Linked DNA regions of Homo sapiens: all the other regions are linked to region 5. Evidence: promoter capture Hi-C in 16 types of primary human blood cells and fetal thymus (Javierre and others, 2016). All regions are on one chromosome and are shown on one strand. Each heading gives the region's core, a stretch centred on a gene start or on the middle of the fragment in contact. The rest is flanking DNA. Distances are from core to core; before and after follow the strand shown.

The links. The method cuts DNA at HindIII sites, captures the fragments that hold promoters and counts their contacts. A CHiCAGO score of 5 or more calls a contact.
Region 1: the fragment with the promoter of PIAS2 here is called in contact with the fragment with the promoter of MEX3C in region 5 in 1 of 17 cell types (activated CD4 T cells); the score reaches 5.6 in activated CD4 T cells.
Region 2: a fragment that was not itself captured here is called in contact with the fragment with the promoter of MEX3C in region 5 in 2 of 17 cell types (activated CD4 T cells and total CD8 T cells); the score reaches 6.0 in activated CD4 T cells.
Region 3: a fragment that was not itself captured here is called in contact with the fragment with the promoter of MEX3C in region 5 in 1 of 17 cell types (naive CD8 T cells); the score reaches 5.1 in naive CD8 T cells.
Region 4: a contact is called between the fragment with the promoter of POLI here and the fragment with the promoter of MEX3C in region 5, in 5 of 17 cell types (non-activated CD4 T cells, naive CD8 T cells, M0 macrophages and 2 more). The highest score is 12.5, in non-activated CD4 T cells.
Region 6: a fragment that was not itself captured here is called in contact with the fragment with the promoter of MEX3C in region 5 in 3 of 17 cell types (neutrophils, fetal thymus and naive CD8 T cells); the score reaches 6.3 in neutrophils.
Region 7: a contact is called between a fragment that was not itself captured here and the fragment with the promoter of MEX3C in region 5, in 2 of 17 cell types (total CD4 T cells and fetal thymus). The highest score is 7.4, in total CD4 T cells.

Annotation. Positions count from the first base shown.
Region 1 is chr18:46,916,106-46,919,806 of GRCh38, reverse strand. PIAS2 (protein inhibitor of activated STAT 2) reads left to right here and starts at 2,300. Exons shown (of 14, transcript NM_004671.5): 1 at 2,300-2,485. The coding sequence starts at 2,462. KATNAL2 (katanin catalytic subunit A1 like 2) reads right to left here and starts at 2,205. Exons shown (of 18, transcript NM_001387690.1): 1 at 1,881-2,205. RefSeq lists enhancers at 1-643, 2,151-2,904 and silencers at 2,041-2,780, 2,851-2,930. The HindIII fragment of the contact is 2,459 bases long and covers 1,616-3,701 here.
Region 2 is chr18:54,206,779-54,210,718 of GRCh38, reverse strand. All of the region lies in intron 1 of MBD2 (methyl-CpG binding domain protein 2), which reads left to right. Among named protein-coding and RNA genes, the nearest start is that of SNORA37, 14 kb to the left of the region's middle. RefSeq lists enhancers at 523-862, 953-1,002 and a silencer at 1,873-2,073. The HindIII fragment of the contact is 2,811 bases long and covers 776-3,586 here.
Region 3 is chr18:54,246,934-54,250,972 of GRCh38, reverse strand. It overlaps LOC124904306 (a long non-coding RNA gene), which reads left to right and starts at 2,262. Exons shown (of 2, transcript XR_007066378.1): 1 at 2,262-2,343; 2 at 3,159-3,853. RefSeq lists enhancers at 2,720-3,606, 3,607-4,039. The HindIII fragment of the contact is 8,611 bases long and covers 1-4,039 here.
Region 4 is chr18:54,267,447-54,271,290 of GRCh38, reverse strand. It overlaps POLI (DNA polymerase iota), which reads right to left and starts at 1,774. Exons shown (of 10, transcript NM_007195.3): 1 at 1,630-1,774. The coding sequence starts at 1,744. It overlaps LOC124904307 (a long non-coding RNA gene), which reads left to right and starts at 1,386. Exons shown (of 2, transcript XR_007066379.1): 1 at 1,386-1,465. RefSeq lists enhancers at 1,293-1,342, 1,873-2,002, 2,263-2,412 and a silencer at 1,413-1,662. The HindIII fragment of the contact is 5,901 bases long and covers 1-3,844 here.
Region 5 is chr18:51,195,522-51,199,257 of GRCh38, reverse strand. It overlaps MEX3C (mex-3 RNA binding family member C), which reads left to right and starts at 1,577. Exons shown (of 2, transcript NM_016626.5): 1 at 1,577-2,691. The coding sequence starts at 1,938. RefSeq lists enhancers at 1,064-1,153, 3,274-3,323, 2,952-3,573 and silencers at 1,354-1,883, 1,904-2,013, 2,154-2,233, 2,494-2,543, 2,564-2,613. The HindIII fragment of the contact is 5,421 bases long and covers 1-3,055 here.
Region 6 is chr18:47,925,418-47,929,562 of GRCh38, reverse strand. The region is part of intron 1 of SMAD2 (SMAD family member 2); the gene reads left to right. Among named protein-coding and RNA genes, the nearest start is that of SMAD2, 3.2 kb to the left of the region's middle. The HindIII fragment of the contact is 517 bases long and covers 2,384-2,900 here.
Region 7 is chr18:54,287,540-54,291,184 of GRCh38, reverse strand. All of the region lies in intron 8 of POLI (DNA polymerase iota), which reads right to left. Among named protein-coding and RNA genes, the nearest start is that of POLI, 20 kb to the right of the region's middle. The HindIII fragment of the contact is 2,897 bases long and covers 1-2,830 here.

The DNA of each region.
Region 1 (3,701 bases), core at 1,051-3,550, 4.3 Mb after region 5:
TGGAGAGACAGATTTAGAACCTGGACATTGTTCATTCATTCCTTTATTCATTAAACAAATACAAGGCCAACTATTTGTTAGGCATTTATCAGCCATTATAGTCTAGTGGGTTTACAATTTTTTAACATAAAATTTTAAAATAATAATTTTTATTTTTTGAGACAAAGTCTCACTCTGTTGCCCAGGCTGGAGTGCAATGGTGCGATCGCAGCTCACTGCAACCTCCACCTCCTGGGTTCAAGCAATTTTCCTGTCTCAGCCTCACGAGTAGCTGGGATTACAGGCATGTGCCACCACACCCGGCTAATTTTTTTTTTTTTGAGATGGAGTTTCGCTTTTGTTGCCCAGGCTGGAGTGCAATGGCGCTATCTCCGCTCCCTGGAACCTCCGCCTCCAGGGTTCAAGCGATTCTCCTGCCTTAGTCTCCGGAGTAGCTGGGATTACAGGAATGCGCCACCACGCCTGGCTAATTTTGCATTTTTGGTGGAGACGGGGTTTCTCCATGTTGGTCAGGCTGGCCTCCAACTCCCAACCTCAGGTGATCCGCCCGCCTCTGCCTCCCAAAGTGCTGGAATTTAGAGCGTGGGCCACAGCTCCTGGCCTAATTTTTGTATTTTTAGTAGAGACAGGGTTTCACCATGTTGGCCTGGCTGGTCTGCAACTCCCGACCTCAAGTGATCCACCTGCCTCGGCTTCCTAAAGTGCTGGGATTACAGGCATGAGCCACTGCACCTGGCCAAAACAATATGTGTGTGTGTTGTGTATATATACACAACACACACACACACACACACACACATATATATATATACACGCACACACATATATATCAAATAAACAATTACACAAATACCTACATAATTACCATGGAGACATCTCAGGAAGAAAAAGTTCAGGGTCCTAGGAGAGGTCATAACAGGGGAATTTGAATTAAAATGTGGGATGTGGGTGAGGGATGGTCTTCCTGAGGAAGTGACACTTAAAGTGAAACCTGAAGGATGAACAGGAGTTAGGAACAAAGAAGAGAGTGGGAAATTATTCTTGGTTCAAGGATCAACATTTAGAAGCCTTAAAACTTGAGGGGAGGCCGGGTGCAGTGGCTCACGCCTGTAATCTCAGTACTTTGGGAGGCCGAGGCGGGCGGATCACCTGAGGTCCGGAGTTGGAGACCAGCCTGACCAACTTGGAGAAACCTCGTTTCTACCAAAAATACAATCGCAGCTACTCGGGAGGCGGAGGTAGGAGAATCGCTTGAACCCGGGAGGCAGACATTGCGGTGAGCCGAGATCGTGCCATTGCACTCCAGCCTGGGCAACAAGAGCAAAACTCCGTCTCAAAAAAACAAAACTTGCGGGGTGCGGGGGCAGGGGAGTGGAAGGAAGACCTGGAAGTGCAGTGCGGATGAAACGAGGGGTAGTGGGAAGAGGCGGTAGGTAGGAGGCTGATTAAACAGGGCCTTAAAAGTTACATTGTTTTAAAGACCTCTCGTGTGTGGGTTCCACCCAATTCTTCAAGGAAATTGAACCCTGGACACCGTCCAGCGATTTTTCTGGCCATCTTGACTCAGCATCTTCCTTCATCCTATATCAGCACATTACGGGGGGGCCATCAAGCTTCCTTCTATCTACTTACTCTGCCTTGGCGTTTGACTCCTTCCTAGCTATCAGATTTCCCCGACTTTTTAGCATGGCCCTTCTGAGCGCTCTTATTTCACTTCTCCCCGCCCCCAACCCCACCGCCTAACTCTCCCAACTCTGCAGTCCGTGACCTTCAGGTGCCCTTCAAGGTCAGAAAAACTCGGCAAGGTTGGTACTTGCAGGACATTAGCAATTCAAAGAGGTGTCACACAACCTCACCATTAGATGGGAACAATAGCTTACCCAACACCCATATTTAGATTATTCCGCCACAACTACTCTGGGGGATGGTTTTATTTGCGGCGGCTTTCTCCGTCCATAGGCACCGCGTGAAGGGCACCGTAAGAATCTTCCCGAATGCTCCTGTCACGCGTCCCGGCCGCCTCTTCTTCCTCCCCGCCACTTCCCGAGGCCAGGCCCGCGGATAACGCCTCAGTTGCGACCCAGCTCTAGGCAGTCCGCAGGGGCCTCCGCCGGGGAGGGAAGGCACGACCTGGGGCCGAGCGGGGCCAAGCCGCGGGGCAGCACGCCGGGGCAGGCGCGGGCGGGCGCTGTCGCCGCGCGGACTGAAGGCGCGGGCGGAAGGCGGTCGCGCGGGTGGGCAGGGGGCACCGCTAGGGGCGGGGCTTCGGCGCGTCGGAGGCGGAGCTCCCGCGCCGTTCACGTGACGGGCCCGGCTGTAGCGGCGGCGGCCGCGGCGTCTTAAGCGGCGCCCAGTGCAGGATGGTGCTGGAGGCGGCGGCGGCCGTGGTGGCGGCAGCGTCGTTGGCGGCAGCGGGAGTGGGTGCGGCGGCAGCGGCGGCGGCGCCCGCGGGTGGTATAAAATGGCGGATTTCGAAGAGTTGAGGGTAAGCGGGAGTGGAGAGCGGAGGCCGCGGGGGAGGGGATGGGAGAGGAGGTGGGGAAACCGCAACGTCGCCGGCCGCCGCCTGCTCGTGCCTCTGGGGCCGGTTGGCGGAGCCCTGAGCCCCGGCCCGCGGACGAACGGGCGCCGAGGGCGCGGGGGAGGGGAGCGGGCCGGCGGAGGGCACGCGGGCGGCGCGGGGGCGGCGGGCCTGGGCCGCGGCGAGCCGGCTCCTGAGTGCTGCCAGTGGTCCGCACACCTGGCGCGGGGGGTCGGGGCGCCCTCCAGGAGGGGCACATGGGGACCCGACATCCCGGTTCGCAGTGAGGGCCGATGTGGGAAGCAACGTTTGATCTTGCACCTTCACCGGGGTGTACGTGTCTGTGGCTATTCACAAGTCTGCATGCTACTCACTTGGTGGAGGACTGTTTTCTGAAAGCTGAAGTTGCGTTTAGGAATCTCTCCTCTTCTTATGGCTGATGCTACCGTTTAGTCAGGTCTGTCACGAGAAAAGGCCCCTTCTCCCACCCTTGCCTCCTAACATCTTCGAGGAACCTAATGTTTGGGGATCCCTGCCTTCAATAATCGGCCTTAAACCTCGATATTTTCTTAGTGTTTTAGTAAGAAATCTGCAAAGTCTATGTTGTGAGGTTTGTGCACCCCTTTTACTCTTGAGGAAAAATATTTTTTTCTTCTCAGTCTTAAAACAAGATCATAACTTTATTGTTGATACCCTTGTATAGCAGAGGTCTGGAATAGGGCTGTGATGGGGGTAGAACAGAAGAGACTTTTTCCCCCCAGACTGATAACCTTTAAAGTCCTAACTAAGTGTGACGAATGAGATGGATTTGTGTGTATCGCTGAATTACTGGCGACATAAATGAGATGTTTACGGACAGAAACCCTGATTTTTTTTTTTTTTAAATGTATCAAGGTAGAGATGAGTGTAAACTTGAAATTACATTTACTGCAACTCGTTTGTGTAACACTTATGATATTAGGATTTCTTTTTCAAATAAGGAAGAGGAATCCGGTAAAAGGTTCAGTTTTGTATATTTATTGTTTTCCGCAAGAGATGGGATGGGGGAAGGATGTTGGCTGGTTACCTGCTTAGTGGACGTGAGCAAAAGAACGTATCCTCTGCTCTAAACGGAGATTGTTGGAGTTTGCACAGTGCCTGCCATATTCCCTCCTGCTGTTTCAAAAATAATTATTAAGTT
Region 2 (3,940 bases), core at 932-3,431, 3.0 Mb before region 5:
AGCTAGCCATCTGCCATCTGTGACACCCCTTGTCACTCACAGGCCATTTCATCTTACTCCAGTCTGGTGACTGCTACCCCCATCATGTTAGAAATTGATTTGAAAATAGACTTGTGTTTATTTAGAGCCCTGGCCTCATAATGGTTTGACTGAACATTATGATTATCCATGTTATCAAAGAAACAAGAAAAGGTATCTTCTGCTATATTAGAGCGGTGATTTCAGAGTACAGTTTCACATGCAGGCAGCAGGTCTTCTGGAGATGTAATTTTATGTCATAGACTGGCAGGGCATATTATAGTTGTCTAGCTCAGGTAATGGTAATTACAGGTAAGTTCACAGTGCGACAAAATATGAGTACCACTAAATTAAAGTGAGCGTAATCTGAGTATTTCTGGTTTCAATTACTTTTTTTTTGTTATTTTATTTTTATTTTTAAGTGATGAAATGTTCCTATGTGAACTGGAAAAATACAATTCATGTTTTGATTTTCATTTAATTAGTATGTTTCTTCAGGGCTTTTTTCAGAGTTTATTTAAATAGTGGGTAGAAGAAGTTAAAGGTGTGATCACAGTTGGTTCAGGAATGGCATATCTAGGGGGCAGTTGGTAGGGAATTTTTTTTTGTGGTTGAAAGTGAAATAGTATTTCATTACTGGGATTAGAAGTAATCATAATGGGCAGAGAGAACTGAAAATGACTAATATCCTTCACTCAGTCTTCTAGAGTTTTTGAACTTCCCTAAGTTACAAATTGATGCTTTTAAAATAAAAGCTTAGTCACTTTAAGTCTTGGTGTTTCTGAGACCAGGACCTACAGCAGCCATTATTGAGGGTAGACAGGTGATTAAACTTAATCACTTTGGGTAAGACTAGAACTTAGGTGACAGTCTTTTTGTTCATCTAGCATTTATTTCCTCAGTTTGCCTCTCCCAGGGTCAGTTTGCTACTGTACAGATGGTCTGTATCTCATCTCATGGGCAGAATTCCTACTTAATCATTCCCTTGGGCCTTGCCCTCCTCCATGTTTGCTTTCACCTCCTGAAGAGTAAAGTCTCTGGCCTAAAATCCCCTGGGGCAGCCAGGTTGACTTTCCTTAAAGCACCACAGACAGACTGTAGCAGTTACGGAGAAGAAAATGGCTTGTACTACTGTTTTCTGAAGGCAGCAGTATATATGATAGATACTTGTAGCTATCCAATACAGATGTTTCATAGAATTCCATCTGTAAAACAGGAAATGGTTATTCATTATGAATAAGAATTTACTGGTTACTAGTGAATATTCCAGCTTTCTTTTGGATATGCTAATAGTTAAAACTTCTACCTTTTTTCCTTCATTGCCAACTTAGTTTATTAGTAAAGGATGTCTAGCCTTTTTGTTTATAATAAATACCTTCCTTTTTTTTTTTTTTTTTTTTTTTGGAGATGGAGTCTCACTCTGTTGCCCAGGCTGGAGTGCAGTGGCACAATCTCAGCTCACTGCAACCTCCGCCTCCCAGGTTCAAGCAATTCTACTGCCTCAGCCTCCCCAAGTAGCAGGGATTACGGGCGCACGCCGCCACGCTGGGCTAATTTTTTTGTATTTTATTAGAGATGGGGTTTCACCGTGTTGCCCAGGCTGGTCTCAAACTCCTGAGCTCGGGCAATCCGCCCTCCTTGGCCTCCCAAAGTGCTGGGATTACAGGTGTGAGCCACCGTGCCTGGCCCCCCATTTCATTTTTAAAATTAATAAACAATAGAAATAATATGAAGCCGTGTTAAACTGCTGATGAACTGCTAATCTAGATGATAAACATAAGTGATCACATTTCGTGAGTATAGCCTTTTAATTGAGTTCAAATTATCTTGATTTGGGGGAGAGATCTAAAATGAACTGGTCTCTAATGAGTTTTGTTCTGTAGAGGAACATTGTGGTGAGGCTCTATTATGTTTTCAGCTGCAGTGGATAACTGACATTTCAACTTTAAGATAAGGAACTACTTATTGCAGGTTTAATTTGTGAAGTTTGTCAATTGATTCCCTCATAAATAGCTTCCTATTTGTCTCTAAGCCATAAGCTAAGAACAGTATGCTTATCTTTTTGGTAAGAGTTACTGCCTGAGTATTTCATCTTCTGGAAAATGAATTTGTTGAAATAAGGTGTCTACTCTAGAGCTGTTTTTTATTGCACAAAAGAGATCTATGTGAGAGACAGCTGATTGAGAATTGTCATTTTATTTTATTTTATTGAGACAGAGTTTTGCTCGTTGCCCAGGCTGGAGTGTAGTGGCGCCATCTCGGCTTGCCGCAACGTCTGTCTCCTGGGTTCAAGCGATTCTCCTGCCTCAGCCTCCCGAGTAGCTGGGGTTAGAGGCATGCGTCACAACGCCTGGCTAATTTTGTATTTTTAGTAGAGATGGGTTTTCTCCATGTTGGTCAGGCTGGTCGCAAACTCCCGAACTCAGGTGATCTGCCTGCCTTGGCCTCCCAAAGTGCTGGGATTACAGGCATGAGCCACCGTGCCTGGCCACAGAATTGTCATTTTTATTTTGTGGATTTTGTGTTTTCATTTTTTTGTGGTATGTTAACTAGTTTATCAGAATGTCGTTTACCAATAACTTGAGTATCTGATATCTGATAATAAGGACCATATGGCTATTGCAGCTTTTTGTTGTTGTTGTTGTTTTTTGTTGTTGTTTTTTGAGACAGACTCTCGATCTGTCGCCCAGGCTGGAGTGCAGTGGTGCGATCTCAGCTCACTGCAAGCTCCGCCTCCTGGGTTCATGTTATTCTCCTGCCTCAGCCTCCTGAGTAGCTGGGACTACAGGCGCCCGCCACCACGCCCGGCTAATTTTTTTGTATTTTTAGTAGAGACGGGGTTTCACCGTGTTAGCCAGGATGGTCTCGATCTTCTGACCTCGTGATCTGCCCGCCTCGGCCTCCCAAAGTGCTGGGATTACAGGCATGAACCACTGCGCCTGGCTATTGCAGCATTTTATAAGTGACATAATGGCAGAGTAATGTTACTAATTTTTCATATTAATTTAGGTCATTAGTAATACTTTATTTCTTATGTGGTAAAACACATTAATCATGAAAATATTTTCTAGCTTAGTTTTAAAAATTCTTTGCCATATAACTTTTAAATAAACAATAATATTTATCCCATTGTGTCTGCAAATGAAAACTACATCCTTTAGTATTGAACTGATAACGTTTTTTGCTCTCAGAAAGTTACCTTGTTCAGTGCTAGCCTATAATGGTGTTTGAAGTTTAAGAGTGGCATTGTTGTTTGACTCAGCAAGGAAATATATAGGAAATATTGTAATGAAAATAGAATTTCGAGTGGTAGTAGATTATTTCTGACTTGAATTGAAGAATCCCAGAAGACTTCCTAGTTGAGGTGGAGGATATTTTAGCTGGGCTTGGAGGATTTAATAGCTTTTTGATAGGCAGGATGTTGCTGTGCTCCTCCTTCCATCTGGAAAGACATGACTGGAAGATTCAAAGGTATATGGCATATTTTGGTGATTTAGAGTTTGGAATGTAGGCTACCAAAGCTGGTGGGAAAAGAGTCTGGGAAAAATTATATAACAGATATAAAGCTTTCGATGACTTATTAAGGAGGTGAAGCTTTTTTGTCAACATTGAGGAGCTTGAACATTTAGAACTTGGTACTGGATGTGTGGCTGAGACATGGGGGCGCTGAAAGATTGTGATGTGGCCTTCTAGCTTGGAGAATAAAGCACTAAGTGGACAGCAGCGCCACTGACACAGGTGCGGAATATAGAAGATCAGGTTTTGGGGTGGAACTCTGGTGGGCAGAGATGGTTCAAGTTTCGGACAATATTGCGAGTGACTTGCTATTTTATTTTGTGATACCGAGTATTCTGGAAGTCTAGGTTAGAGTTGGAGTTGAGCTTTGCTTGTGTAGAATCCTGTACTCTTTCCTCTGGTTTTT
Region 3 (4,039 bases), core at 1,102-3,601, 3.1 Mb before region 5:
TAATTCATGCATATAACTAATGATTCCAAGCAGTTATACTTCCTGTTGTGTGTGTTTTTGTGGCCTATGTAGAAATTTGCTGGAATCAGAGGATCTGAGTTTATGTTCCAGTCCTGCTATTTACCAGATAGGTAATTTTTGTTTTTTTTTTTTGAGGCGGAGTCTTGCTCTGTCACCCAGGCTGGAGTGCAGTGGAGCAATCTCTGCTCACTGCAACCTCTGGCTCCCAGATTCAAGGGATTGTCCTGCCTTAGCCTCCTGAGTAGCTGGGACTACAGGTGTGTGCCATCATGCCCAGCTAATTTTGTATTTTTAGTAGAGACGGGGTTTCACCGTGTTAGCCAGGATGGTCTCAATCTCCTGACCTCATGATCTGCCCACCTTGGCCTCCCAAAGGGCTGGGATTACAGGCGTGAGCCACTGCTCCAGTCCCCAGATAGGTAATTTTTACCAATCACCTTGAATTAGTCCATTTTCACACTGCTGATAAAGACATATCTGAGACTGGACAATTTACAAAAGAAAGGGAGATTTAAGGGACTTATAGTTCCATGTGGCTGGGGGGGCCTCATAATCATGGCAGAAGGTGAAAAGAATGTCTCACACGGCAGCAGGCAAGAGAAGAGAGCTTGTGCAGGGAAACTCCCCATTTTAAAACCATCAGATCTCATGAGACTTATTCACTATCACAAGAACAGTACGCAAAAGACCTGCCGCATGATTCAATTACCTCCCACCAGGTCCCTCCTGCAACACGTGGGAATTCAAGATGAGATTTGGGTGGGGACACAGCCAAATCATATCACACCTAATCTCCCGTAACCTTAGTTACCACATCTAAAATGATACCCAACCTATCTATCCTCTAAACTTCTGCCTTATCTATTTCAGGAATTCTTGTGAGGAAAAAATAATAAAGTAAATGTGAAAGGGCTTTATAAGAAATGCCAAAATATTTAGAAACAGTAGATATCCAAGTATGCAGAATGTGGAAGGGATCATAGAGATTATCCAATTGAACTGGGTAATTATTTTACAGATAAGGAAACTAAAAACCAGAAAGAACTCACTCACAATTCTAACTCTTGGGCAGAATCAGGTTTTCTGGTTCCTAGACCAGTACTTTCTAACTTCAGCAAACTGTCTTCCTAGGCAGAGTCCACTTCTTGGTGGCTCAAGTTTATCCTCTCCATATCATGGTTTGATATTGTAAAGAACACAAACACAAGAGCCAACTATTTTTTTAAGCACCCACTGTAGAGAGTTTAAATAAATATAAAATTTAGAAAAAGCTAGATTATTTAAAGAAAATACACAAGAATTGTAGGTGGCTTCGAATTATATTTAACATTATTTGAAATATGCCAGGACATTATTTGAAATATGCCAGGACATTATTCTTGTCCACTGAAGTGCAGGTTTTATAAAAGTGTCAACAACCAGGATCTATATTGAGCTTGTACAGATTAACCTTTAGTTCAAGGTCAGTAAGTGGCCAATAAAAGCTGCCAATAATATTATCTTTTTTCAATTGACTTCATTATAAGATGTTAAAATAGTATAACAGGTTAATAGCAGAATAGTCATGCCTGAAACCCATTTCAGTATTGATCTGAAAATTTAGACTTGCAATTATTGAAGAGGATGCTGTCATAACTAGTAGATGAAATAGGCAACAAATTAATTTGTCTATAGTGTTAGGTGTTGGAAGAATATTCTCTTTGACATTGGGTTGAATCTACTCTTTAGTGCATTCAAACAGATCTCATTGATTGAATATAAGTAGGTTAAAAGATTGGCAAGACTTGAAGTCCACAAATCTGAAAAGGTTTTTGAACTGTTCTGATAGCAAAAGTCTTTTACTGTATGCCCTATTTAATTCAAACCTTTTATTCACTTGAATTATATAAGGAGATATTAGTAGACTTCAATCAGAGAAAAGACTGCAGTTTACAGAGTTCAAGGCAGTTGTCTTAAGATGATAGAATTGAAAAGGCCTCCAAAATGTCTGTCAGATATAGAACCTTCATAATCTCAAACACCAGATTAACCCTACTGTCAGGGAAGGTTTGAATGGCCAGATCCAGGATTTTATAGATACTTTTATAGGTAATAAATTTATGATAACACTAAAAATTATCGAATTCTCAGATGGCCTCGTGTGAGTTTGTACCTCTAGCTGGCTAACTAATCATAACATTTTTTTTTTTTTTTTTCCGTGACAGAATCTAACTCTGCCACCCAGGCTAGAGTGCAGTGATGTGACTTTGGCTCACTGCAATCTCCACCTCCTGGATTCAAGCCATTCTCCTGCCTCAGCCTCCCAAGTAGCTGGGACTACAGGTGGGTGCCACCATGCCTGGCAAATTTTTGTATTTTTTAATAGAGACGGGGTTTTGCCATGTTGGCCAGGCTGGGCTCCAACCCCTGACCTCAGGTGATCCACCCATCTCGGCCTCTCAAAATGCTGGGATTACAGGTGTGAGCCACTGTACCCGGCCAGTCATGAAATTTTAAACTTTAGAAGGATAAAGTCAGTTTTGAGGTTTTTACTGATCTGTTTTTAAATATCTGGAGAAAATTTCAGGAACGAATCAATATAATTTATAATGTTGATATAATTTATAATTTTATAATGTCAAAGACAGTATTGTTCCAACACCCATGGGTATTTTGGATGTGCCTCCAGCTTATGATTTTCAATCAGAACATTTAAATTATTTTATTTTTATATTTAATGATTCCCTTACCCCCCCCCACGCACAAATCTAAAAGGAACATGTTCATCAATTATAGAGGTTATGTTCCTGAACGGGACTGTGGTTGGCAAAACTATTATTGCTAAGATCATGATCACAAAGAATATACAGTTTTAAGGGGAAAATGTATGCCATAAAAATATTATATGCATTTTTAACTCAGTAAATTAAAGGAGACGTCGTCTGCTTTTGAAACAAACCAGATTTGCTGGCATCCATACCTGCTCTGGTATTTTCCCTGAGTCACCTTTATCAATTCTTCAAGGAAAAATTTCTGAGCTTCTCAGGTTAGCATCATGTTATCAGACTATAGCTCTATTTAATGCTTTTGAATCAGCCCTTTCTGCCTTGAAATTTACTGTTTCTTTGACTTATGCTTTCCTCTGTTTCCTGTCTCAGCAAATGCCTGTGTAACACCCAGGCTTTTTACAAGGTATCTAAATACTTAAGTATTGAACGAGACAGGAGGGAGTCTGATCTTGAAGACATCTGCAAAGAAGGTGGGACAACAAACAGAGTTCTTCATTAACTGCGTTTCCGCTGAGCTGAGCAAGTCGGCCACGAAGGGAACAGAACAGCCATGTGTTTACATAAGTCAATCACAGCGTTTTATTTTTGTTGTTGTTTTTTAATCTCAAAGCCATAGTTAAAATCCCCTCCAGATTCTACTAACTCAGAAATAGACCCAAGAAGGTAAAAAATGTTTTGATTCTCAACTTTATTAGCAGTAAAAGTGGTTATGGAGGGGAAAAAGAAGTTTTATCCTGAGGTCCCCTTCCTACATCTCTCATAGCTCTACCCATGGTGAATTGGAAATGAAGAGCCCCATGTGAACAGCAAACCTGATTCTTCCACTTAGTGGCAGGGTGAGAAGCTGCTTCTGAGAGAACAAAGGCCTGTCGGGGCCTGCAGGAGGCCGAACACACCTGCCAGCTTACTGATGAGAACCTGAAGCAGAGTCAGCCCACAATGCCTCGGGGGAGGAAACCCAGAAAGGATTCTAAAGGCTGGGCCACAGCACCATTAACCCCACAATAGCCTTACGATTGTCAGACTCTCCTCCTTTCACTAATTAAATAAACATCTGTTCTTGCCTTGGGGAAGAACAAAGATGGGGGGTGGGGCTGTGGAGAGACAGAGAGAGAGAGAGAGAGAGTGTGTGTGTGTGTGTGTGTGTGTAAATACAGCGTCTCTGAAAGAGGAGAACAGAACTCTTCATTATTCAAATGGTAAAGACCAAAAGGGTTTAAAAACTATCCCCTCTTTAGGTTGATTTTTTG
Region 4 (3,844 bases), core at 525-3,024, 3.1 Mb before region 5:
TAAAACATGGTACCTGTGAAGGAAGAATGCAGAGTGACGTGTTTTCTCCTGGATTATGTGTGAAAGCATCGAAAAATTACAAAGACATGAAACTCCACTTAGGGTAGGGTCTTCAGTCCTCTTAATTACTGTTTGTGCACTGCGTTTTTCTCAGGATAGTAATAAGTTTGAAGGGAAAAAATGTGATAAATAATGGATGATGAAAGAGCTAATACTATCACCTGGAAGTTTATAGTAGCTCTTAGTGTAAACCAGAAGGGGCAGAAAAGTTGAAATGACGTTGATTTTCACACAGCTTGAAAATTATTCTAAGCAGCATGCCCTTACATTTAAAACAAACAAACCAACAAAAACTGAAATACAAAATGGCAAAAGACAACCAGTGGGTACAAGTGTGGGCTATTTTTAGCTCCCATGGCAGCAGGATTATCTGGTTTAATGCTAAATCGCCAGTGCCTAAAACAGTGTCTAGGACATAACAGACCACCAATAAATATTCACTAAATTGAAAGACTGAATAGTTCTTTGATTTTAAAAAGTTGTTAGGTCATTATTTGTCGGGGAGGGAATGACAGAGGCGACTCCTTCTCTCAACACTGGCTAAAAACAAGACAGGCAAAATACAATACAATATTCTGGTTGGGATCCTGGAACAGAAAATGAACGTTAGCAGAAAAACTGGTAGAATATTAATAAAGCGTGTAGTTCAATTAATAGTATTATACCAATGTTAATTTCCTAGTTTTGACAAATGTACTGAGTTTATGTTAACACTAGGGGGATCTAGCTCTGCAACTTTCAGGTAAACCTAAAGTTCCAAAATTTAAAAGGCCAGGCACGATGGCTAACTACTGTAATCCCAATACTTTTCGAAGCTGAGGTGGAAGGATCGCTTGTGGCTGGAGTTTGAGACCAGCCTGGACAACACAGCTACACCTGATCTAAAAAAATCTGAAAATCAGCCAGGTGTGGTGGCACGTGCCTGCTGTCCCAGCTACTCGGGACGGAGAGGCTGGGGCGGAGGATCACTTGAGCCCAGGGGTTCGAGGCTGCAGGGAGACCTTGTCTCTAAATTAATGAATGAAACAAAACCAGCAGGAAATGAGAACCGGTGCCTTTACATCCAGGCCCTGAGGTGGGCGGTACAAGGTAAAGACCAGAGCTGGAAGTGGGTCACCGGAGACGTGACCACAGCGGACCTGACTCCGCCTAGGTTCTGAGCCATCCCTTCCTGCCAGGACTGAGATCCGGGTCCCACCTTCTGCCAAATGAGCGACAAGGTCCTCAACTTCTCCAAAGTTAAAAGGCCCAGAAGCCTCTGCAGTTTTCGTCGGGCTGGCTGAGGGATTCCCGCCCCACCTCGCCCCTCACAGAGGAAAGGACGGCGCAGATAAACCCTCGACACGTATTTGTAGTGTGGACGCGCCCCACCCTACTCCTGCTGGGTGAAGCCATTCCTCTAGAGGTACCCGCCGCGTAACACAAGGCAGAGGGAGGCAGCCCTCTCTTAGAGGAGCCGAGTGGGGCGGGGACGGTCGCGCCCCAGTGGCCGCCGCCCCGAGCGTCCGCCTGCCCCACCCTTCTCATTTACACCCAAGGAGGCCGCTGGCTCCTCTGGCTGCGGCGCACCCTGCGAGCTGGCTGCCGCCCCCACGTCCGCCAGTTCCATGGCCCAGGCCTCGGCGTCTTCCTCGTCGTCGTCGCCGCCGCCTTCCTCCTCCGGCTCCACCCCCAGCTTCTCCATCCCGCCGCTGCCAACCGCAGCGCTACTTCCGGCCGCTTCCGCCTGGTCTCCAGGGAAACCGGGGGACTACAGTCTCCAGTCGCTCTGTGCCTCTCGCCTGCGCAGTCGTGGCCGACCAGCCTGTTGCCCAGAGTGACACGCATGCCAAGGAATCGTGGAGGCCCACGTGCGGGAGTTTTTTCCCGCCGGGTGGAGGCCGGAAGCGGAGAGATTGAAAGCACAAATGGCTATTTTTTTTTTTTTTGAGACGGAGTTTCGTTCTTGTTGCTCAGGCTGGAGTGGGCAACAGTGACGCAATACCGGCTCACTGCAACCTCTGCCTCCCGGATTCAAGCGATTCTCCTGCCTCAGCCTCCCAAGTAGCTGGGATTAACAGGCATGCGCCATCACGCCCAGCTAATTTTTTTGTATTTAGTAGAGACGAGGTTTCACCATGTTGGTCAGGCTGGTTTCGAACTCCTGTCCTCAGGTGATCCACCCTCCTAGGCCTCCCAAAGTGTTGAGATCACAGGCATGAGCCACTGCGCCTGGCCTTTTTTTTTTTTTCTTGAAGGCTTTGGAGTTAGGCCCACATCACAAATTTTAGCGTTTTGTCTTTGTTCCATTCGGCTGTTAGCAAACTTGCAAATCCCTAGACCTGAGTGATTAATGTGATGGGGTGGGAAGGAGTGTAACTGATAGTAAAGACACAGGTGGCCTTGTAAACTCATATGATTAGCAACTATGTTAAGGTTTGCTGTGTTTTGTTTGTTGTTGTTTTATTTAAAGACACTGTGACGAATTCAACCACAGAATTTTTAACATCAAAACTGAATAGGATTTGATACATGAGTGTTGTAGTCAGACAAAATCTCCAATCCAGACCCTCCATCATGCTGTGTGACTTTGGGCAGGTTACATAACTGCTGTGAGCCTCAGTTGCTCTACTCTTAAAAAAAAAAAAAAGTATTGAGATTGAATGAATGGATAAAAGCTACCATATACTGTAATATCCTAATGTATATAAAACATGTGGCACATAGGAAGTGCTCAGTAAATGTCTATTCTCCTTGCCTTCTATTAGGATACCATGTGTGCATGTGTGTGTTGGTGTGTGTATGTGTATGTTTTACAATAGAGGAAATTTGGAAATTCCTCCATGCCTGTATGTATGTATATACACTATATCTGTATAAATACCCAAATTAACACATATGTTTGGTTTTTTATATGATTCTACTTCTTATCAAATAAAATATTAGAACCTTGAGAAACCCTTTAAAGCAGCCATTCCCAACCTTTTTGGCACCAGGGGCTGGTTTCATGGAAGACAATTTTTCCACAGACAGAAGGGAGGGGGATGGTTTTGGGATGATCCAAGTGCGTTACATTTGTTGTGCACTTTATTTCTATTATTATTACATTTTAATAGATAATGAGGTAGAATCAGTGGGAGCCCTGAGCGTGTTTTCCTGCAACTAGACTGTCCCATCTGGGGTGATGGGAGATAGTGATAGATCATCAGGCATTAGATTCTCATAAGAAGCATGCAACCTAGATCCCTCGCATGCGAGTTCACAGTAGCGTTCAGGCTCCTGTGAGAATCTAATGCCGCTGCTGATCTGACAAGAAGCAGTGCTCAGGCAGTCATGCCAGTAGTGGAGAGTGGCTGTGAATACAGATGAAGCTGCACTCCCGGGCCCGCTACTCACCTCCTGCTATGCGGCATGGTTCTTAACAGGCCAGGGACTGGTTCTGGTCCATGGCCTGGGGACTGGGGACCCCTGCTTTAAAGGATATGTTGATGCATCCATGAAGAAAAGGGAATAACAAGCAGAGCTGGGTCTCAGTGGTTTGGAAACAAAATCTTCCTCTTTGCATATTTAATTCTTAGATGTCTGGACCAGTTCTTTCAAAGTCTGCTATCTAGGTTATAAATTACCTGTTCAGAGAGCTAGGCTGCTATCTTTGTGAAAGCTGTTTGATAAGTCTAGATAGTTGTTTGGTGGTTTTTCATTTTATTTAGTTATTTATTTATTTATTTTGAGACAGAGTCTCAGTCTGTCTCCCAGGTTGGAGTGCAGTGGTGCGATCTGGGCTCACTGCAACCTCTGCCTCCTG
Region 5 (3,736 bases), core at 328-2,827:
GCTGAGGCGGGATGATCACTTGAGCCTAGGAGGTCAAGGCAGCAGTGAGCTGTGATCATGTCACTGCACTCCAGCCTAGGCGACAGAGTGAGACTCTTGTCTCAACAAAAACAGAAATAATAACCTCTAGAAAAGATAGCCACTGCGTGAGATCACCTGAGCAATACTGTGGGAAGAGTGTCTAGGGAGGAGGAAACGGGGATTCATTTTCTTAAAAAGCACCAAAGAGCTGGGCGAGGTGGCTCACGCCTGTAATGCCAGCACTTTGGGAGGGCGAGGCGGGCGTATCACTTGAGGTCAGGAGTTCGAGACCAGCCTGGCCAACATGGTGAAACCCCGTCTCTACTAAAAATACAAAAGTTAGCTGGGCGTGGTGGCACGTGCCTGTAATCCCAGCTACTCGGGAGGCTGAGACAGGAGAAACTCTTTTTTTTTTTTTTTTTTTTTTGAGACGCAGTTTCGCTCTGTCGCCCAGGCTGGAGTGCAGTGGCATGATCTTGGCTCACTGCAACCTCCACCTCCCGGGTTCAAGCGATTCTCCTGCCTCCGCCTCCCGAGTAGTTGGGATTACAGGCGTGCGCCACCATGCCCGGCTAATTTCTGTATTTTTAGTAGAGACGGGGTTTCACCATGTTGATCAGGCTGGTCTCGAACTCCTGACCTGACCTCGTGATCCGCCCGCCTGAGCCTCTCAAAGTGCTGGCATTACAGGCGTGAGCCACTGCAAGGGGAAGCTCTTGAGCCCGGGAGGCGGAGGTTGCAGTGAGCCAAGATCGCACCACTGCACTCCAGCCTGGGCGACAGAGCTGGACTCCGTTTAAAAAAAAAAAACAAAAAACCCCGAAGAGCTAAACTTCAGCACCTCCAGGCTGCTGATGTAACCATCCTGCCGGCAGAGAAGCCGGGCCAGCGGGGCGTGGGAGGAGCATTCCCGAGTCCGAGAGGGAAGGCCCGGGAGCCACGCGGCTCAGGAAACCGCCCCCGCGAGGGGATAGGAGGATACTGCGTGGCCCCTCCTTCCGTGACTCTTCTTAAGGCCCTTCCTCTGAAGGGGGCGATCTCTTCCTCAACCCAAGGAAACAATGCTCTCGAACCTATGCCTGCAGCTCTGCTCCAGGCCGCTCACACAGTGCCTTCCCTAAAAGAACTCAGCCACATGGGCTACAGGGATGAAGGGTTGGGGGGAAACAAATCCAGGTGTGCGCTTCGACCGCACGCGCCTGCGCCAAAACCCCGCTTGGCCCTTAGTTTCAGCCTCTGCTGCAGCGCCTTCGTCCGCCTCCTTTTTCCCGCCCCCGCCGGGGACGTCACAAAGAGTGACGTGTAAAGTGAACAATCACAGTCCCTCTCCGCGCGTGCCGGGAGGAATGAGAGGGAGGTGGGCGGGGAGAGGACGGAAGGAGTAGGCTTCGGGAACTGGCTGGTCCCGGTCACCCAATCAGAGAGCTCTGGGGAGGGGAGGGGCGGGGCCCGAAGGAGGGTGGGGGGTGGGGCTGGGGAAAGGAGTTGGAAGGCTGCGGGAGGAGAAGGCGGGCTCCCAGAGATTAAAAGCACCCAATCAGAGCGCGCCGGCTTCATTCGGAGAGCGGCGTGGGGCGTAGCCGCCGCCGCCGCGCGCGCCGGGGGCTGGTTAAGGCCATGAAACAAAAGAAACACTGAGAGGGGAGCCGCTGCCACCTCCACCAGCCCGCCCCGCCGCCGTCCCCACCCACCCACCTAGTTACCTACCTCTGCCTCCTTCCCCTGCCCCTCCACCCCGCCCTCTCCGGTCTCCGGGCGGCCCTGGCGCTCCTCGGCCCGGGTCCCCAGCCCCGCCGCCTCCCCAGAGGAAAGGTGTTTGCGAGCTGAGCAGGGCCCTGGCCCTGTCCGCCATGGGGCTCGCCGCCTGCCGCGCCTGACCCGGCCGCCGCCGCCGCCATTGACAGCGCGCCGCCGCGATGCCCAGCGGCAGCTCCGCGGCCCTGGCCCTGGCGGCGGCCCCGGCCCCCCTGCCGCAGCCGCCCCCGCCGCCGCCGCCGCCACCGCCGCCTCTGCCGCCGCCCTCGGGCGGCCCGGAGCTCGAGGGGGACGGGCTCCTGCTGAGGGAGCGCTTGGCCGCGCTAGGCCTCGACGACCCCAGCCCGGCGGAGCCCGGCGCCCCGGCGCTTCGGGCCCCGGCAGCGGCGGCGCAGGGCCAGGCCCGGCGGGCGGCGGAGCTGTCTCCAGAGGAGCGGGCTCCGCCCGGCCGGCCCGGGGCCCCGGAGGCGGCCGAGCTGGAGCTGGAAGAGGACGAGGAGGAGGGGGAGGAAGCGGAGCTGGACGGAGACCTGCTGGAGGAGGAGGAGCTGGAGGAAGCAGAGGAGGAGGACCGGTCGTCGCTGCTGCTGCTGTCGCCGCCCGCGGCCACCGCCTCTCAGACCCAGCAGATCCCGGGCGGGTCCCTGGGGTCTGTGCTGCTGCCAGCCGCCAGGTTCGATGCCCGGGAGGCGGCGGCCGCGGCGGCGGCGGCGGGGGTGCTGTACGGAGGGGACGATGCCCAGGGCATGATGGCGGCGATGCTGTCCCACGCCTACGGCCCCGGCGGTTGTGGGGCGGCGGCGGCCGCCCTGAACGGGGAGCAGGCGGCCCTGCTCCGGAGAAAGAGCGTCAACACCACCGAGTGCGTCCCGGTGCCCAGCTCCGAGCACGTCGCCGAGATCGTCGGCCGCCAGGGTGAGTGCAGGGGTGGGGAGGTCCAGCTGGGCATGGCCCCGGGCGTGGGTGGGGAGACGAGAGAAAGGAGCGTGGGACGGAAAAGGCGAACCCGGCGAGGCCCCCAAGTCCACCGCGAAGGGGTCTGGGAGGAGCCGAGGGTCGACCAGATGTGAAGATGGGTCACCTTGCGAAAACCCACGCTTTTCCGCCCGTCTTGCCTGGTAAAAAGTGTGAAGTTTCTCGGGCGACCCAGTCCGGTGGTGTTCACGTTACTTGGGCTGTATTCGTGGAACACCAGGCTGGCGTGGCACCAGAAACCTCAGTGAGGTGGTAAAAGGTCGGGCTCGAGGAGTTGTGGGTTCGCTGTTGGGTACGGAAAGCTTCGAGATTGCAAGTTTGCGCCGCCGAGTGTCTTCTAAAAGCGTTCAGCCTCCCTTACAAGAACTTGTTCAGATGGAGAAAAGAACAGAAATGGAGGCCTGTAGACAGAGCTCACTGGGGAGGGAAGGGGTGTTCAAATGGTCGGTATCACCGCCATCCCCTGCCCCTCCGCTGTTGAGAAACTTAGCTTTGGAAAAGCAGCCCAACTCACTGCCGCCTATCTTAACTGTATTTCTCTCGGTACGTTTCAACTCTCGGAAAGACACACTGACACACTGGCTGTCTTTTAAAACTGTTCAGTGTGCAGGATGAAGAAAAAATGGACACTAAGGTAATTAAGAAACTTCATCGGTTTATACAGTTTTCAGTTAATTCTCCTCTTCACTTGCCAGCACACCAGTACTGCAGACAGACTCCTCCCACATTGTTCAGACAAAGGACCTGTGTCTCAGATTCCAGGAGTAGATTTGTGAAGGTGGGGGAAGGGGATGCCTGGGGTACCTCTGTATCCGACATTTTTAGGGAAGGTCCTAAGTTCTTTATGGTAGCATTTCCCCTTTATGAAAGGGGCAGATGTTACCTGCTGCCACCGCATGACAATGTGGTTTAGCCTGGTTGTTGCATGCCTCTTTACTGTTAGGTTGAGAGCATTGTTGGGGTCAAATAAAGAGAGATGATGGCG
Region 6 (4,145 bases), core at 1,393-3,892, 3.3 Mb after region 5:
CAGCATTTTCCATCAAAGTCATGTCTTGTTTGTTGCAATTTGGACTATCTTAAATTTGGGTTTGTGAAACTTTTAAAACGACATGTGTAAAATAATTGTTAATAAATAAATAACTTGGAATAATTACATCTTTTTAGAAATGGTCTTTGAAATGTGATTTAATTTCCAAAATTCTTTTTCTCTCTTCTGACTTCATATGAATTGAACCTGATAGTTTCGTATGAATGAATCGCTGATAGGATGTTTTCCTTGAGCCTAGTAATAAATTTGCTCTTATTATGCTGAAAATTTGCTATTCTACTTTAACACCCTTTAAAAAGTTTCCATCTTACAGAGAAGTTAGTCAAATAGTTAAATGGAGTTTCAACAGTTTTAATACATGAATTAGTGAAGCAGATGAAGCAGAGATGGGAGAAGTAATTTAAAATGGGCTTCATAAATGTACCATAGTTTGAGGGTATTTAAAAAATTTGCCTTCGGAAAACCCATACAAGATATTTAAAGAATTTCCTCTGCCAGAAGGTCATTTAGCAAACGTTTATATTAAATTCAAAAGTAATACTTTTATTTTTAAAGTTCCTTAGCCGTTGCCGTAAACTTAGCTGTCGTAGTAAATATAAATAGTTCACATCTTTCGGCATTTCTAAAGAGTGTGCCCACTTTTACTATAAATATTAAACTCTGCTGGATTTAATTGAGTTCAAGGCTGTTCACTGGCCAGGTTTAATTAATGTAATGTGATTGGAAACGTTCATTTTGGGGTTTTAGTAAGAAATTGCTCTTAGAGCTTGGTTTTTATACTTAGCCACACCTTCTAAAGTGCGGCCACAAGCATTGTAGGTGTTCAACAAAAGTTTGGGTTTTCAAGGTTGTAACCTACGTTTACTTAGTCATAAGTGGTCATGTCTCTACACAGTCTGTAAGTTTCATGAAATAATAGTCTTTTAAGAAACTGTGCAGGGTAATTTCCTGTTGTTTGTGTCTTATCAGGCTTGGTATGTGTTTTAACTCTTGTGTAGGAATATTGGGGATGGTTTTGGTATTTCAACAGAACTTTAGTAGGAACAAAGGTTGTTTCTATTCTACTTCAAGATGGCCAGAGGTTGTTGTCCCCTTTTCATTTTCACATTGTAAATATTAGAATCATGTTGCTATAATCTTTACTTCACATTTGGGGGAATATATGTCAATGGAAAAACTCGGTTTAGCTGTGTAAACCGCTGGCCAAAGACCTATTGAATTTTTACATTTTGCAAATACTGTCAGTTTTAAAAGTCTTTCCTTGTTCTTGTTTGGTTTTGATTCTGTTGGTTTTGTGCTTTAGGGCTCCAAAAACCTCGTTTTGTAGCAGCTTTTTTATACAGGTGTTTTTGTAATGCATATAAAAGCTGTATTTAGTGCAGTCTGGCAGATGGAGATTTATTCATATTCTTAGGACAAAGAGTCATTTTTAGAGGGTAGAGGGGGGCATGTCTTTTAGATTCTTAGTCTTTTGATGGGTGTAGAAGAGCCATTTTTAGGCCCTTAGTTTCTGTGAGAGGTAAGATGTTTTCCCCTAAGTATTCCAAAGGTATGTCAGAAAATGTGAAACGTAAGGAATTCACAACCAGTTAAGAGAGGTTATGAGAGATTATGCATTTATATATTTTATTTTATTTTATTTTGAGACGGAGTTCACTCTTGTTGCCCAGGCTGGAGTGCAATGGCACGATCTCGGCTCACCGCAACCTCCGCCTCCTGGGTTCAAGCGCTTCTCCTGCCTCAGCCTCCTGAGTAGCTGGGATTACAGGCATGCGCCACCATGCCTGGCTGATTTTGTATTTTTAGTAGAGACGGGGTTTCACCATGTTGGTCAGGCTGGTCTCGAACTCCCGACCTCAGGTGATCCGCCCACCTCGGCCTCCCAAAGTGCTGGGATTACAGGCGTGAGTCACCGCGCCTGGCCGATGCATTTATTTTCAACAAATACATTTATTCATTTATTCAACAAACAGCTTTTTCTGTGTGTCAGGCTCTGGACTAGGCAATAAAGTCTCTTAACAGCAAACAAGTACACCCCTGTTCCTTAATGGAGTTAGAAAAGTGGAAACTCATGTCCCTTGCCCTATTCTCCAGTGTTTAGAGTAAGACAGTTGTTAGTGTACAAATCAAGGGCACATGCATTACTGAGCCATTCCTAAAGTGAGCTTGCCTTGCTTCCTGTAACATGTAGCAGATAGCACTAGGGAAGATGTGAAGTGTTACTCAGTGTCACTGGGAACAATCTGTGTATTTTGGGGGGACCTTGGCACCAGTTTTGCACAGTCTATACAAACTGAAGATACGGCCAGTCTTTCAGAAACATGTTTATTGCTGAACAGATGTACACTTGTAGAGCTAAGCTTCATCTGACCTTAATTTGATCACTTATTGCCCTTTAATTACAGAAGCTGGTTAAGGAAAGAAAGCAGAGTTGAATAACTCAGTGAAAGGATCGGGAATAGTGTAAAAAGTTAGTTAAACCGAGACCCAGGATTGGACAGCAGTCTCATGTAGTGGAAAGGCCTTGGGTTTTGGAATCAGAGAGCCCTAGCCTAATATTTTGTTTCTCAGTTACAATACTGGGCAATTTACTACCAACCCCAGGCCCTTGGTTTTCTGACACAAAATGGAAGTACTAACCCCTTCCTCTTATTCAGTGATCACAATTCAAGTACCTAGAACATTGCCTGAGATATAAGGGTCCTCCCAAATGATTTCTTCCTCTCTTGTAGTTGTGGGTTTGTTACTTGGGCTCTTTCTAATCCAAATGATTTGCCTACACTGTTATTATGGACCTATTGTAAAATGTATTTGAGAAGCAGACAATGAACAACAAAGGCCTGGGATAGCCAAATTGTCCCAGTCCATAGCTTAAAGCTTAGGAGAGCCTTGGAGACCCTTAATAAGAATGTGTTGGCATTTATTTAAAGTGTTTCTAACAAGCAAAGTTATCTGGCTTCTAAACCTGCACTAGATTAGAAACAAGTAGATTATGGGTACTGTGGGAGGCTTAGAGGGGGTGTGGTGGGGGCTGGGGAGTAGGATGTTAGCCTAGTGTCTCTTGTCAGAAAAAACAGATAACAGCTCGGTGAGGATAATAGAGATAATCTACAAGACACAAAAATAGTCAAAGCCTGACTAGCATGTCTGGGGCCATTGAGTGCAGGACCAGACCTGAAAGCATAGTAATGAATGTTCATCAATTAGCCTAAATCATGTTTGGGAAAATCTTTTTAAGAGTGCAATAATCTACGTAATATACTTTAGATTGTCACTCAGGATGATTAAGAAATGTTCTTAAAGGGGTTGAAGATTGTGCTATAGCTTATGGCTTATTTCATGAAAGATCACAGTAGCTGTTATGACCAAGATGTTTTTCATTTGTTTTGCCATTCAGACAGCCATTCAGATTCCAAGCTGAAAGGGTAGCCAGCAGTAAAGAAAGGCTGTTTCAGTGTGGTAGCACCCTATGTCACCCCTTTCTTTGGTGTAAGTAATTTTTTTGTCAGTCTGCAGGAGTATCATATAAATTTTCACTTGTGCTTTGACAGTAGTGTATGCTTTTCACTGTGTTTTGAGATAGAGTATGCTCGAGATTTCTAGGATAAAGCAAGAGTGGATAGTTGGCCAGTCTCTCTGTTGAGGGTTTCTTGACTCTTGTCATGTGACTTCTGCCCAGTATTAGCACTGATAATTTTTTTGATCCCCTTTCTTGTAACCTTACCTCAGGGTTACTTCTTAAACCATCTACACCATCAGATAATTATTGGTGACCTTGTAATATGTAGCCTTGGCTGTTTTTAAGAATCAGGTTTTTTTTTAGCAGTAGTACAAAAGTACTAGCCTTTTTGGTTTAAAAATGCATAGTTAGAGGCTTATTGCTTGTCATTGATCAATTTTGATCATTTTTTCAGGTTGGTGTAATTGTGATGTATTCAGTTAGGACATAATTCAATGTTGATTCTAGATTTACATCTCAAAGATAGCTCGCAGCTTCAGTTCAGCAATTTCATGTAGGGAGAATATAATTTTTCCAAGCCAGGTGGATTTAGACACTGCCTTTAGTTTGGTCAGATAGCCAGAAATATTAGGGCAATTCTGTGTCTTCTGTGCTTGCCTCACAT
Region 7 (3,645 bases), core at 133-2,632, 3.1 Mb before region 5:
TGAGAGAACCAAAGAGGGACTACATAGGCTCCCCGTACAACCCTAGTTGACTAGGAGGCTACATGCAAATAAATGGAAGGCCACAGAGGGCCCAAGCTCCCCATACACTCCTTACTGAAAGGGCTACATGCACATCATGGGGAGATAAAGAGGGCCTAGCAGAAATTAAAATTCAAGAAAAACTTGAAAATGGCCTAATTTTTTTTCTTTTATACTTTAAGTTCTGGGGTTCATGTGCACAATGTGCAGATTTGTTACATAGGTATACATGTACCGTGTTAGTTTGCTACACCTATCAACTCTTCATTTACATTAGGTATTTCTCCTAATGCTATCCCTCCCTCAGCCCTCCATCCAGATAGGCCCCGGTGTGTGATGTTCTCCTCCCTGTGTCCATGTGTCCTCGTTGTTCAACTCCCACTTATGAGTGAGAACATGTGGTGTGTGGTTTTCTATCCTGGTGATAGTTTGCTGAGAATGATGGTTTCCAGCTTCATCCATGTCCTTGCAAAGGACATGAACTCATCCTTTTTTATGGCTGCATAGTATTCCATGATGTATATGTGACACGTTTTCTTTATCCAGTCTATTACTGATGGACATTTGGGTTGGTTCCAAGTCTTTGCTATTGTGAATAGTGCCACAATAAACATACGCGTGCATGTGTCTTTATAGTAGCATGATTTATAATCTTTTGGGTATATACCCAGTAATGGGATCACTGGGTCAAATGGTATTTCTAGTTCTAGATCCTTGAGGAATCACCACACTGTCATCCACAATGGTTGAACTAATTTACACTCCCACCAACAGTGTAAAAGTGTTCCTATTTCTCCACATCCTCTCCAGCATCTGTTGTTTCCTGACTTTTTAATGATCGCCATTCTAACTGGCATGAGCTGGTATCTCATTGTGGTTTTGATTTGTATTTCTCTAATGACCAGCAATGATGAGCATTTTTTCATATGTCTGTTGGCAGCATAAATGTCTTCTTTTGAAAAGTGTCTGTTCATATCCTTTGCCCACTTTTTGATGGGGTTGTTTGCTTTTTTCTTGTAAATTTGTTTAACTTCTTTGTAGATTCTGGATATTAGCCCTTTGTCAGATGGGTAGATTGCAAAAATTTTCTCCCATTCTGTAGGTTGCCTGTTCACTCTGCTGATAGTTTCTTTTGCTGTGCAGAAGCTCTTTAGTTTAATTAGGTCCCATCTGTCAATTTTGGCTTTTGTTGCCATTGCTTTTGGTGTTTTAGTCATGAGGTCTTTGCCCATGCTTATGTACTAAATGCTATTGCCTAGGTTTTCTTCTAGGGTTTTTATGATTTCAGTTCTAACATTTAAGTCTTTAATCCATCTTGAGTTAACTTTTGTATAAGGTGTAAGGAAGGGATCCAGTTTCAACTTTCTACATATGGCTAGCCAGTTTTCCTAGCACCATTTATTATATAGGGAATCCTTTCCCCATTGCTTGTTTCTGTCAGGTCTGTCAAAGATCAGATGGTTGTAGATGTGTGGTGTTATTTCTGAGGCCTCTGTTCTGTTCCATTGTTCTGTATCTCTGTTTTTCTGCCAGTACCATGCTGTTTTGGTTACTGTAGCCTTGTAGTATAGTTTGAAGTCAGGTAGCATGATGCCTCCAGCTTTGTTCTTTTTATTTAGGATTGTCTTGGCTATAGGGGCTCATTTTTGGTTCCATATGCAATTTAAAGTATTTTTTTCCAATTCTGTGAAGAAAGTTAGTGGTAGCTTGATGGGGATGGCATTGAACCTATAAATTACTTTGGGCAGTATGGGAAAATGGCCTAAATTTTTTAAGCCCTCTCCAACCCATACACTTATCCACTGGCAGAGGTAGACGGCTTCCAGACTCTAGTGTTTGAGCAAAACCTTTGCCAATCACTGGCTAACCATGAAACTATACAGACATGGGCAACTTCCCAGAAGCCAGTATTAAAATAAAAATTTGAATGGAAAAAAAAAAAAAAAACACTTGAGCAGAGAAATCAGTGGCTACACAGCACAGGGGAGGTAAATTCTGCAGATTACGTTCAGACAAGTTACCTAAAAAGAAGTACAGGAAACAAAAAAGAAAAAACCCTACAAGAAAAAATTGTAAATCCAGAGTTGCTACAATACATTATCTATGAGGTTCAGTTTTCAATAAAATAGTTCAAAACATGCAAAGAAACAGGAAAGTGTGATACATATTTGGGAGGAAAAGCAGTTAACATAAATTGACTTTGAGGTGAACTTAGCAAAGACTTCAAATTCATTATTATAGATATGTCCAAAGAATTAAAGACAACCATGTTTAAAGAATTAAAGTAAAATATAATGACTACAAAAAAAGGAGAATCTTGATAAAGAAACAAAACCAAACATATAAACAAAAGACAAACAGAAATTCTAGAGTTAAAAAGTACAGTAACCAAAACCAACAAATCACTACAGGGGCAACAGCGGTTATGAGATGACAGATGAATCAGAGAACTTACAGGCAGCTCAATACAAATTATCCACTTTGTAAGAAAAAACGGAAAAAAAAAAAGACTACAGAAAAATAAACAGAGCAGCAGAGACCACCACAGGGTGGAATCAGTGTTAAGGATAAACATATAGACCAATGAAACAAGAAAGTCAGGAAATAAACTCTTATATTTATGGTCAATTAATTTTTGACAAAGATGTCATGGTAATTCAGTGGGTGGAGAATAGTCTTCAACAAATGATGCAGGAACAACTGGATACCCACATGCAAAGCAAAGAATGAAGACCCTTACCGTATACCACACATAAAAAAATTAACTCAAAATGGACCTAAACATAAAGCTTAAAAACTATAAAACTTCTAACAGAAAACAGAAAAAAATATCTGTGACCTTTGAGTTAGGCAAAGAATTTTTACATATAACACCAAAAACACTATCCATAAAAGAAAAACCACACTACTATATACCGCTAGAACAACTATAATCAAAGAGACTGATAATACAAATATTGGCGAAAATATGAAAAACTGGAACCTTCAAATATTGTTGATGAAAATGTAAATTAATACACAAACTTTGGAAAAAAGTTGGCAGCTTCTTAAACAGTTCATGTTACCATATGATCCAGCAATTCCACTCTTTGAAATCTACCCAAGATAAATGAAAACATATGCATATGCCCATCCAATGACTTGCATTTAAATGTTCTTCAAAATGGAAACAATCTAAATGCCCATAAAGAAGTTATCTCATGCTATACAGTTATCACAGTTTTGTTCTCTTTGAACTTGGAAAACATTCTTAAATGACTCTTTACTTAATTATCTATTTAAAAACAAGGCCAGGTGCAGTAGCTCATGCCCATAATCCCAGCACTTTCGGAGGCTGAGGCAGAAGGATTGCTTGAGCTCAGGAGTTTGAGACCCTGTCTATCCTAAATATCAAAAAAGTTAGCCAGGTCTGGTAGCATGCACCTACTGTCCCAGCTACTCGGGAGGCTGGGGCAGAAGAATTGTTTGAGCCTGGGAGACAAAGGCTGCAGTGAGCTATCACAGCACCACTGCACTTCAGCCTTGGTGCAGAGCAAGACCCTGTCTCAAAAAATAAATAAATAAATAAACAAACAACAAAGTTTTCCAGTGAAAATTCCTGATAGA